2 separate regions of the Homo sapiens genome follow, and region 2 is linked to region 1. Evidence: promoter capture Hi-C in human tissues and cell types (Jung and others, 2019). All regions are on one chromosome and are shown on one strand. The core of a region is centred on a gene start or on the middle of the fragment in contact, and the rest is flanking DNA. Distances in the headings are between cores, read along the strand shown.

Region 1 (5,519 bases), core at 1,746-4,245:
CAAAGGAAAACTTGCCGAGCTTTGGCGGAAAAGAAAAGGCCGTTGGAAGACCATGACTTATCAGAAAATGGCCAGGGCACTGAGAAATTATGGAAGAAGTGAGGAAATTACCAAAATCCGGAGGAAGCTGACTTACCAGTTCAGTTAGGCCACTCTCCAAAGACTCTCTCCATCTTATTTCTTGGGGAAAGAGATCTTTCCCCAAGTGTGTTAAACCTGATCAGGAATATCTCAGTTTAAATAACTGGAATGCAAATTATAATTATACATATGCCAATTACCATGAGCTAAATCACCATGATTGCTAAATATACTCTCATATTTCATGGTTTCCTGGCATTGGAAGTCCCTACAGTTTTAAGGATTTCTCACTCTCTGTCTCTTTTTTCCTTCCTCTGAAGGAGTTTAGGATTTTTCTCTTAAAGCAAACACTAAAGAGAAAAAAAACCAAGTAACTTTATTTGCTGCTTTTATCAAAGAGCATGTAATCTATACTAACTCAGTGGGAAATTCTGCCAATGAGCAGCTTTTTTTTTAATACTCTATGAAGATTCAATGAAAAACTTTATTGTTTCAAATGATTAAGTCCATTTGAAACTATAGACTAAATGTCCTTGCTCTGCTCTTACTATTCTCTCTAATTTTTTTATTTTATTATTTTTTAAAAGAGGTCTCAGCCAAGACAATTTTAAATTTTTATGGATTTAGGAGTACAAGTGCAGTTTTGTTGCATGGATACATTGCGTAGTGGTAAAGCATATTGCATAGCATCCTCATCATCAGAATAGTGAACATTGTACCCAATAGGTAGGATTTCATCCCTCATCCCCCACCCATCTGCCCACCTTTTGGAGCCTCCGGTGTCTATTACTCCACTCTGTATGTCCATTGCTAAGCCCCCAACTATACTCATTTTATTTTATTTTAAAACTTGTTTTCTTTTTCTGCATACTTCAATGGATGCAAACTCTTTTCATTTTTTCTTTTCCTTTCACAGACAGTGACTTCATTTTTTTTTTTTTTTTTTGCTGCTAACTCCCAAGCACAACACAGTGACTTATGTTTTTAATTTTTTTAAGAGGCAAAGCCTACCTCTGAAGCTCCTTTTTTTTTTCTTTTCCTACTTCAATAAGCTGGTCTACATTCTTACTCTTCTCTATGCAACCACTTTCTTCTAGATTAACAGTGCTAGTACAGATGATTTGATTTATACATTGATTTCAGCATTTTCTTTTCATGTACTCAGGTGAGGAAAATCACTCTTTTATATCCAATGACTTTACAAAAAATCATTTACAAAGAAGTGACTGCATATGATAAAATATTTGTGCCAAAATAAATTCATGGCTTTTAAAATGTCATAGAAATGTCTATTCAGGTATCTTTTTTTTTTTTTTTCACATTCACTGTAATCCTTGTTTGATGTCAATGTCACGTCACCACCCCAAGCGGGGGGCACAAGCACGAGGAAAGGAAACCTTCCCCGTGAGGGGAGGGGTGGGGAGGCACGCTTCCCTCCCCCAGCGCAGCTGCTGGCTCTGTCTTTGCCGGAACACTCCAGCCCCAATGCTCTTCTCTTTGCTGCTGAGTGAAGTCCTCCCCATGGCCCACGGCCTCCCTGCCTCAGCCCTTTGGATCTGCTCCTCAGACTTTACCCCTTAGTTATGCCCTGATTCTAGGACCCAGCCTGGACTCCACATCCCTTGGTCCCAGGCTGGCCCCAGGTCTTCCACGTAGTCCCTCTCCACCAAGTCCCCAAGTCACCCTTGACTCTGAGAGGTATCCCTCTCCCACACCAGTTCTTTTCCAGTCACTTCTCCTCCCATGTTTGTCTTCAGTCTTTGCCTTTATTTATCCCTGTCCCTCCCAACCCCCGGGCTCCCAAGTTCTATCTCACTCCTCCACCCTCCCTGTCCTCTCACAGCTGAGGTTCTGGGCTGTAATGATGGCAATGCTGCCCAGCACAACCCCTGCCGCCACGATGTCAGAAGGTGCCACAGTCTCATGGAGCATATAATACTGCAGTATAAGGGCCACAACCACCTCGGAATGTAGGACAGCGCACACCAGGGCAGGGTGGGCCTTGGTGACCGCATAGCCCACACATGTGAAGGAGACCAAGGCGAGGATCCCCACTGCCCCCACACAACTCCAACTCAGGAGGTCACTGGGCAACACGGGGGCCTGCAGCACAAAGAGGCCTGGCACAGAGCCCAGCAGCCCCACCAAGCCAGATAGGAAGGCCACTGTTGGGAGGCAGGGGGGAAAGTGCAGAGAACGATAGACCAGAAGCCTCAGGGACAGCGCCAGGCCTCCCAGGAAAGCCTCCACATAGCCCAGGGCGGTGTAGACACCCGTGGTCCCCTCCTGTAGTGTCCAGAGTCCAGGTCCCACAATGATGATTAGTCCTAGGATGCAGCCCAACAGTCCACACCAGTCGTAGCCACTGAGACCCTGGCTCTCAAGGCAGAGAGTGAGGACGGCGGAGCAGACGGTGGAAGAACCTTTGCGAACAGTGGCAGCGTTGCCAGCGGGCACCACCTGAACCGCACTGTAGGCACATCCAATGCTGAGGATGTTGAGCAGGGCACAGAAGAAGGCCCGGCTTCGGATGTCAGGAGTTCCCAGAAGGGGGTCGCCACGCAGTTTAAGTAGCAGGGCAATAGGGAGGTGGAAGAGGCATCGCCAGATGAGCAGCTCCAGCGAGGGCAGGTTGGAAGCCTGGTAAGCCATACGAGAAAGGGGGCCCACGAAGCCAGCAGGCAGGCCCCCACCCAGCAGGGCCACCAGCAGGCCACTGGTGGCATCAGAGGGCTGGCAGCGCTGGTACCAGCGGAGGCTGGGTGGAGCGGAGGGCGGCGATGGGTGTGTGGAGTCAGGCTGGTTGAAATAGGGGTGACTGCCAGCCATCTTTCCTTGGACTTTCTCCTCTCCTCCTGGCTCAGGGAGCCTGGGCCCCTCAGAGCTCCAGCCATTGTGACCTCATTGGAGTGGGGGTGGGATTCTTCCCTGGAACTCTCCTGAGGTGGTAGCACGCCTATTTTCCCACTGAGTCCAACTCTGCTTCTTTTCTTTCTTTTTTTGTTTTTTGTTTTTTTTTATTGATCATTCTTGGGTGTTTCTCGCAGAGGGGGATTTGGCAGGGTCATAGGACAATAGTGGAGGGAAGGTCAGCAGATAAACAAGTGAACAAAGGTCTCTGGTTTTCCTAGGCAGAGGACCCTGCGGCCTTCTGCAGTGTTTGTGTCCCTGGGTACTTGAGATTAGGGAGTGGTGATGACTCTTAACGAGCATGCTGCCTTCAAGCATCTGTTTAACAAAGCACATCTTGCACCGCCCTTAATCCATTTAACCCTGAGTGGACACAGCACATGCCCCAGAGAGCACAGGGCTGGGGGCAAGGTCACAGATCAACAGCATCCCAAGGCAGAAGAACCCTTCCCAGTACAGAACAAAATGAAGTCTCCCATGTCTACTTCTTTCTACACAGACACAGCAACAATCTGATTTCTCTATCTTTTCCCCACCTTTCCCCCTTTTCTATTCCACAAAACCACCACCGTCATCATGGCCCGTTCTCAATGAGCTGTTGGGTACACCTCCCAGACGGGGTGGTGGCCGGGCAGAGGGGCTCCTCACTTCCCAGAAGGGGCGGCCGGGCAGCGGTGCCCCCCACCTCCCGGACGGGGCAGCGGCCGGGCGGGGGCTGACCCCCCACCTCCCTCCCAGACGGGGCAGCTTGCCCGGCGGGGGCTGCCCCCCACCTCCCTCCTGGACGGGGCGGCTGCCGGGCAGAGAAGCTCCTCACTTCCCAGACGGGGCGGCTGCCGGGTGGAGGGGCTCCTCACTTCTCAGACGGGGCGGCTGCCGGGCGGAGGGGCTCCTCACTTCTCAGATGGGGCAGCTGCGGGGCGGAGGGGCTCCTCACTTCTCAGATGGGGCGGCCGGGCAGAGACGCTCCTCACCTCCCAGATGGGGTCGCGGCCAGGCAGAGGCGCTCCCCACATCTCAGACGATGGGCCCCCGGGCAGAGACGCTCCTCACTTCCTAGACGGGATGGCGGCCGGGAAGAGGCGCTCCTCACTTCCTAGATGGGATGGCGGCCGGGAAGAGGCGCTCCTCACTTCCCAGACTGGGCAGCCGGGCAGAGGGGCTCCTCACATCCCAGACAATGGGCGGCCAGGCGGAGACGCTCCTCACTTCCCAGGCGGGGTGGCGGCTGGGCAGAGGCTGCAATCTCGGCACTTTGGGAGGCCAAGGCAGGCGGCTGGGAGGTGGAGGTTGTAGCTAGCCGAGATCACGCCACTGCTCTCCAGCCTGGGCAACATTGAGCACTGAGTGAATGAGACTCCGTCTGCAATCCCGGCACCTCGGGAGGCCGAGGTTGGCAGATCACTCGTGGTTAGGAGCTGGAGACCAGCCTGGCCAACACAGCGAAACCCCGTCTCCACCAAAAAAATACGAAAACCAGTCAGGCGTGGCGGTGCGCACCTGCAATCGCAGGCTGAGGCAGGAGAATCAGGCAGGGAGGTTGCAGTGAGCCGAGATGGCAGCAGTACAGTCCAGCTTCGGCTCCGCATCAGAGGGAGACCGTGGAAAGACAGGGAAACGGAGACCGTGGGGAGAGGGAGAGGGAGAGGGAGAGCTCAGGTATCTTATACATTGTTTTCTTTCCTTCTCTTCTTTTGATCTTACCCACTTTTTTTTACAACTTAAAGCTTTTTTTTTTTTTTTTTTTTTTGAGACAGGGTCTCGCTCTCTCACCCAGGCTCAAGTGCAGTGACACAAACATGGCTCAAGCCCAGCTAATTTTTTTTTTTTTTTTGTAGAGACAGTGTTTTATTATGTTGCCCAGGCTAGTCTTGAACTCCTGGGCTCAGGCAATCTGCCCACCTTGGCCTTCGAAAGTGCTGGGATTACAGGTGTGAGTGACCAGACTGGTCCCAAAACTTTTTTAATGTTTAAATTTTACCACTATACTAAGGAGGAGTTACCCATCTTTTAATTGCCTTTTTTTCTTCTTATTAGGGAGGGGTAAGGAAGAAGACTTGGTCAGCAGAAAGCAGGTCTTAATTGCTTTTTTGTTTTGTTTTGTTGCTATTGAGTTGTTTGAGCTCTTTATATGTGTTGGATATTAACCCCTTATCAGATGTCTGGCTTGCAAATATTTTCTCCCATTCCATAGGTTATCTCTTTACTCTGTTGATTGTTTGCTGTGCAGAAGGTTTTTAGTTTGTTTGTTTTAGCTACACATCATGAACCAAGAAGCTTTTTACTTTGATATGATACCATTTGTCTATATTTAATTTTGTTGTCTGTGCTTTTGGGAACAAATCCAAAAAATCATTACCCAGACCAATGTCTTGTATGTTTCCCCTATGTTTTCTTTCTTTTTTTTTTTTTTTTTTAAAGGAGGCTGTCAGCTGATCCCCTATGTTTTCTTCTAGCAGTTTTAGGTTCTTGGTCTTAAAGGTCTCTTTTTTTTCTTTCTTTCCTTTTTTTTTTTTTTTTTTTTTTTT
Region 2 (5,917 bases), core at 3,028-5,527, 320 kb after region 1:
GCAGATGCTCGCCAGCCTCTGCCTTTTTTAAGAATAAACTTTTTTTAAACTAAAGAACTAAAGCTGAGATTCTTCTGTTCTGTTGTTGAGGGGCTTCCTGTGTGGGATTTCTGCATGCCCGCCCATTTAGTCACAGCAATTTGGGAAGTTTTCTCTTTGGTTTCTGACAATGAGCATTTGGGGGGAAAGCCAGGCATAAATTAGTTACAGTAGTTGGTGTTTAATGTTTCTCCAGTGAAAATTTGGACTTTTATTTTTTCCTTGTAGAACGCATAATTAAAACTCATAGTATTATTTTGAAATGAAATATTAAATATTTTAAAAAAAGAGACTCTTTTTTTTTTTTGAGACAGAGTCTCGCTGTGTCCCCCAGGTTGGAGTGCAGTGGCGTGATCTCAGCTCACTGCAAGCTCCGCCTCCTGGGTTCATGCCATTCTCCTCCCTCAGCCTCCCGAGTAGCTGGGACTACAGGTGCCTGCCACCACGCCTGGCTAATTTTTTGTATTTTTAGTAGAAACGGGGTTTCACCGTGTTAGCCAAGATGGTCTCGATCTCCTGACCTCATGATCCTCCTGTCTCAGCCTCACAAAGTGCTGGGATTACAGGCGTGAGCCACCGCGCCCGGCCAAAAAATAGAGACTCTTAATGGAGGAGCCATAAACTCACATACCTATAGAAGCCAAACTGGTAAAAGCAAGTAGTGGAACCACATGGATTAATGAGATGATAGGAAGTACAAAACAGCCATGTAAGTCAAATTAAAAAGCCAGCTTCCACTTTCTGCTTTAATCTTTTCAAAGCAATAACTATTACATAAATCAGTGGATACAATATTTCAGCAGTATTTGAAATGGTGTTCATACCCAGCAATTCCGCTTCTAGACATAAATCCAAGAGAATTGAAAACATATGTGCACACAGGCACTTGTACATGAATATTCATGGAAGCATTATCCACAACAGCCAAAAAGTGGAAACAGTCCAAATGTCTATCGAGATGAATGAATAAATAAAATGTAGTGTATGCATGCAGTGAAATATTATTTGGCCATAAAAAGAAATGAAGCACTGATGCAGGCTGCAACACGGATGAACTTGAAAACTTTATGTTACGTGAAAGAAGCCAGTCATAAAAGGTCACACGCTGTTATTCCTATTATAGGAAATATCCAGATAGGCACGTCCATAGAGACAGAGAGGAGAGGAGACGTTGCCAGGGGCTGGACAAGGAGAATGAGAGTGAGCGCTAATGGATGTTGCATTTCTTTGTGAGGTGGATAGTGGTGATCATTGCACAACTCTGTGAATGTACTAAAAATTATTGAATTGTACACTTTGAAAGAATTAATTATATAGTATGCAATTATATCTCAGTTTTAAAAAAAGGAAAACAGTAACCAAAATCTCCTATGGAAGCATAAAATTTTCTCTGTTAATTATGCCAAATAAAACTGAATTCACAGCAAAAAAAAAAAAAGAAGAGAAAGGATTCCTAAATTATTTAATTACTACTAATATCTGACCTGAAGTTACTTTGAATGTCTTGCTTCTTCATCAGCACTGACCATAGTTCTAGTCAGATTTTCCTATTTTTTTAACTCAAACTGTTGAGAGAGAGAAATGGCGTATATTAGAAAGATGCAATATTGTTTAAACTTTACTACTCTTTTGTTTTTACATTGATTTTCATGTTTATCTTATTCTATTTTGACTGTAATGTATACATTTAACTAAAGATTGTATTTCTCAATTGTAATTTTTTTCTAGTAGAAAACATTTTAAGATGCAGAGTTCTTTTCTTTTTCTCCAATCCCTTTAATAGTCACTTAAACAATTAAGATTGAAGCGATAATAAAACTGCATTTCTTACAAGATTTTGTATGATATTTGTAGTATATACCAATTTTCTCATAATCTCTTCTGCAATAACATTTCATTAATACTCTGGTCCTCAGGTTGTTTCAACAAGGTCAGAAAGATAGGCAAGAAGATGGTAAAATAAACTTACTCATGGGTAAAAGGAATCAAATATTTACTATGTACACTATTCTAGGTTTTACACACTTTACATAAATTAAGTGTGACATAAGTTCTAGTTGTCTGTTAATAGAAAAGCATCACTTTGGGAGGCTGACGCAGGAGGATCCCTTAAGCCCAGGAGTTAGAGACCAGCCTGGGCAAGATGGTGAGACCTCGTCTCTACACACACACACATACACACACACACACACACACACACACAGAGCCCCTATAGTCCTAGCTACTCAGGAGCAGGAGGCTGAGGTGGAAGGATCCCTTGAGCCCAAGTATTTGACGTGGCAGTGAGCTATGATTGTGCCACTGCACTCCAGCCTGGGCAACAAAGCAAGACTTCATCTCTAAATAAAATGAAACAAAATAAAATAAATAAAAAACATAACAGCAATTCCAGGGCCAGCTAAGTCTATGTTTTACATGTGCTTTCACTTTAAGTACAAATTGTGGAAACAAACAATGTATCCTTGCCTAAAGATACATTGTCAACATGGCACTAATACATATTTTCCACTTCCAAAGTTTTTTTTGTAAGTGTACAACGTTAGCACATGGAAACATTCAAGCTGTTTATCATTCCACTGAAATCTGGGTTTTGTTATGTTTTGTTTTGTTTTTCTGTTCTCACCTGCTGAGCAGCATTTGGCCAGCATCACCACAGGGACTTGGTTCTATCACCCGGTAAAGTTAAGATGGGAACAGAAAGTGGCAATTGTGTTTCTGGGAGAGAATTTAAAAAAGAGCTGATTTTTTTTTTTTTTTTTTTTTTGAGACGGAGTCTCGCTCTGTCGCCCAGGCTGGAGTGCAGTGGCGTGGTCTCAGCTCACTGCAAGCTCCGCCTCCCGGGTTCACACCATTCTCCTACCTCAGGGACTTGGTTCTATCACCCGGTAAACTTAAGATGGGAACAGAAAGTGGCAATTGTGTTTCTGGGAGAGAATTTAAAAAAGAGCTGATTTTTTTTTTTTTTTTTTTTTTTTGAAACGGAGTCTCGCTCTGTCGCCCAGGCTGGAGTGCAGTGGCGTGGTCTCAGCTCACTGCAAGCTCCGCCTCCCGGGTTCACACCATTCTCCTACCTCAGCCTCCTGAGTAGCTGGGACCACAGGCGCCCGCCACCATGTCCGGCTAATTTTTTTGTATTTTTAGTACAGACGGGGTTTCACTGTGTTAGCCAGGATGGCCTGGATCTCCTGACCTTGTGATCCGCCTGCCTCGGCCTCCCAAAGTGCCAGGATTACAGGCGTGAGCCACCGTGCCCAGCCTTTTTTCTTTAACTTAACACTGCTAGCTTTAAAAGGTAGTGTGTAATTTTAAAGCACTGAAGTTGTCATTTAAATAAGAAAATGCACTTGGCTTAATCAACTGTGAAATGAAGACGATATCACTGCCTTTTCAGGCATTAGACCAAAGCCAATTATTTTGAGCCAAGTGATACCAAGTTTATATTGCACTACAGTTTTCAAGGACATAGTGTTTCTACCCTCTCCGAACCTAAGTTGCCCCCTCACTCCTCCAGCCAACCCCCCTTTCTCTGGGCCCGTTCTTTCCCAGCTGAGCTGTTTGCCCCTTGCTCCCTTTCCCTCCTCTATTTGCCCTTTGACTGTCCCTCTATCTATATCTGGGCTAGTGCAAAAGGTTTCTTCACTGCCTGGTCAGTCACTGACCAGTCACCACTGCACTGGGGTGGATTTGGGATCCTATTAGTAAAACTGACTATCTGGTATGTTTGTGCTGGTCATCTCCCCTGAAAATGATATTGTGCCTCATCATCAAAAGTACTGTTTAAGGGATAAGGATGGCAAACCCACAAGGTATCTGAGAAAATCCTCAAATGTGTGAGTCACCTAGTCAAATGTTCACTTATATATACTACAGGTAAGTTCAGAGATGAACTGTGACTTGCCCGAGGCTGTGCAGCTGACCAGAGGGAGACACTGGAACTGTATTTCTCTTTCCACTATACCATAAAAAAAAACAAGGTTAATGACACTTAAAAAGAGTTTGTAAGTAAACCAAAATGAAATGCCTAGTACATAGGAAAAGTCTTTGGGATCTCCCCACAGATTTTTAGGCAGAATGAAAGCTATCTGTACAATGAGAAATGCTGCTCAGTTCGACAGATGCCACCAAGTACCAACAGATGCCACCAAGTACCAACAGATGCCACCAAGTATCCTTACTGTCGTTCTGAAACTGAGTCTGTGACTGCAGATAATATGTCACTATTTGAGAATAAGAGGTCCCACCCTCTCCATTCTTTTCAGGTCTTCAGTCACAAGGTCACACCTTACTTTCATTGTTTAACAGGATAAATTAATCAGGTTGAAGTAGGACTTAGGAGGTACATTGAAGATAAAAGCAAAACGCAGCAAACATTTTTACAAGTAGATCATCGCGGTTACCTTAAAAGTTAAGTTTCAGATTAATTTACAGAGTAGTGACAGAATCATAATTTCAGTGAAAATCAACAATAGAGTTGTATCATTGAAAAAAGATAAATTTGGAAATACTAAGTCAGGCAAGCACGCGAAATTCAGAATATTAAAAAAGGCAAGGCCTGGTTGCCAACATACGTTCCTCAGATGAAGGTGGATATGAAGATACTAAACAGAACCAAATGACCGAGAAGCTGAAAGGGACACTTTGCAGATCAGCAAATGGACTCCGACTCCCTCGTTCAATACATTGAGGAAAGTGAGCTCACAAAGCTTGATTGGGGTATACATAAATCTAATTCCTGGTGCTGTTTGCAACTACTTATATTTTAAATGCAAGGAGATAATTGCTTAGAACACATTAAGCTCACTGATTTAAACAAAACATTTCAAGACTGACACACTGGAAGGTGGTAATGTTAACACAGCACAACAGCACACCTCGCAGATTTATGTCTAAGAGATTAAATGGAATCATCACCTCAAAATTTTAATCCTCAGTTTTCACAAACACGATCAAGTCTCTATCAAATTTTCTGATTTATAGCATAATGCACTAGCCGTAAAAATGTGCATTCTTCAGTTTCTCCTACACTTTTCTGCCTATCTTTCAACACTGAGCCCTGGGTGTTTTCAACATAAGCAAGGCCATATGCACATTTTAATCTCATGTTTTAGAAATGAACAAAATCTGTGATATTTCAGTAGCTCATAGTGTACTTAAAAAATGAAAAGATCTCTATCAAAATATGCTTTTCACTGGGAAAAATAAATGAACCAAATGGATTTACACAAAGTAAACATTAACTTTGGTAGATTTCAATGTAGAATAGTTCATAACAAGCATATTTGCCCTTCTGCTCAACTACCAAGTTAAGACTTTTTCAAGTATTTTAACTGAGATTTTATTATGTTGACATTTGTTTCTCATTCCACATCGTCTTTGGCCAAGCGCCAGCACTTACAAGTCTCTGATTAACTGGTAGGGGCTTTGTCAGAAGCATCTGGATCACTGGTAGTGGAAGAGTTTGTTGTAACACTTGCAGTAACCACTGTGGCTGTCCACACACAGCACTTGGATTTGTCAGGTGGTCTACACCTTTAGCTAGGATCTCTTCACCAAAGCTATATCTCTTCCAGGAAGAATTTCTGGACAGCTTCAGCATCTTTAAGGTCAGCTAACTTGGAAAGCTCAACTCACTCCTCGGCCAGCTTCTGTTTCTTTCTTTATTCTGGACGCCTATTCTTTAAGTTGGGGTCACTTCAGTCTTTTGCGGTCGAAGTAGATGCAGTACCCGATGAAAAGGGCCCCGAATACTCCAGCGGCGATGGCTCCGTTCCGACCCAGCCTCTTCCCCAGAACGCTGAGTGTGGACTGCGGCGGTGGGGGAAAGGAGCGGTTGCCCACAAACCATCCGAGCACAGGGAGCCGCTCAGACCCGACGCCG

Evidence for each region. The method cuts DNA at HindIII sites, captures the fragments that hold promoters and counts their contacts. A contact is called where the count stands out against the background at its distance.
Region 2: a fragment that was not itself captured here is called in contact with the fragment with the promoter of SLC35G3 in region 1 in 1 of the 25 tissues and cell types used here (mesendoderm cells).

Annotation. Positions count from the first base shown.
Region 1 is chr17:35,191,398-35,196,916 of GRCh38, forward strand. SLC35G3 (solute carrier family 35 member G3) reads right to left here and starts at 2,996. Exons shown (of 1, transcript NM_152462.2): 1 at 1,123-2,996. The coding sequence starts at 2,910. The coding sequence ends at 1,894. It also overlaps the pseudogene SPICP2. The HindIII fragment of the contact is 5,493 bases long and covers 1-4,993 here.
Region 2 is chr17:35,509,370-35,515,286 of GRCh38, forward strand. The region is part of intron 2 of SLFN12L (schlafen family member 12 like); the gene reads right to left. It also overlaps the pseudogene TOMM20P2. Among named protein-coding and RNA genes, the nearest start is that of SLFN12L, 25 kb to the right of the region's middle. The HindIII fragment of the contact is 5,418 bases long and covers 1,569-5,917 here.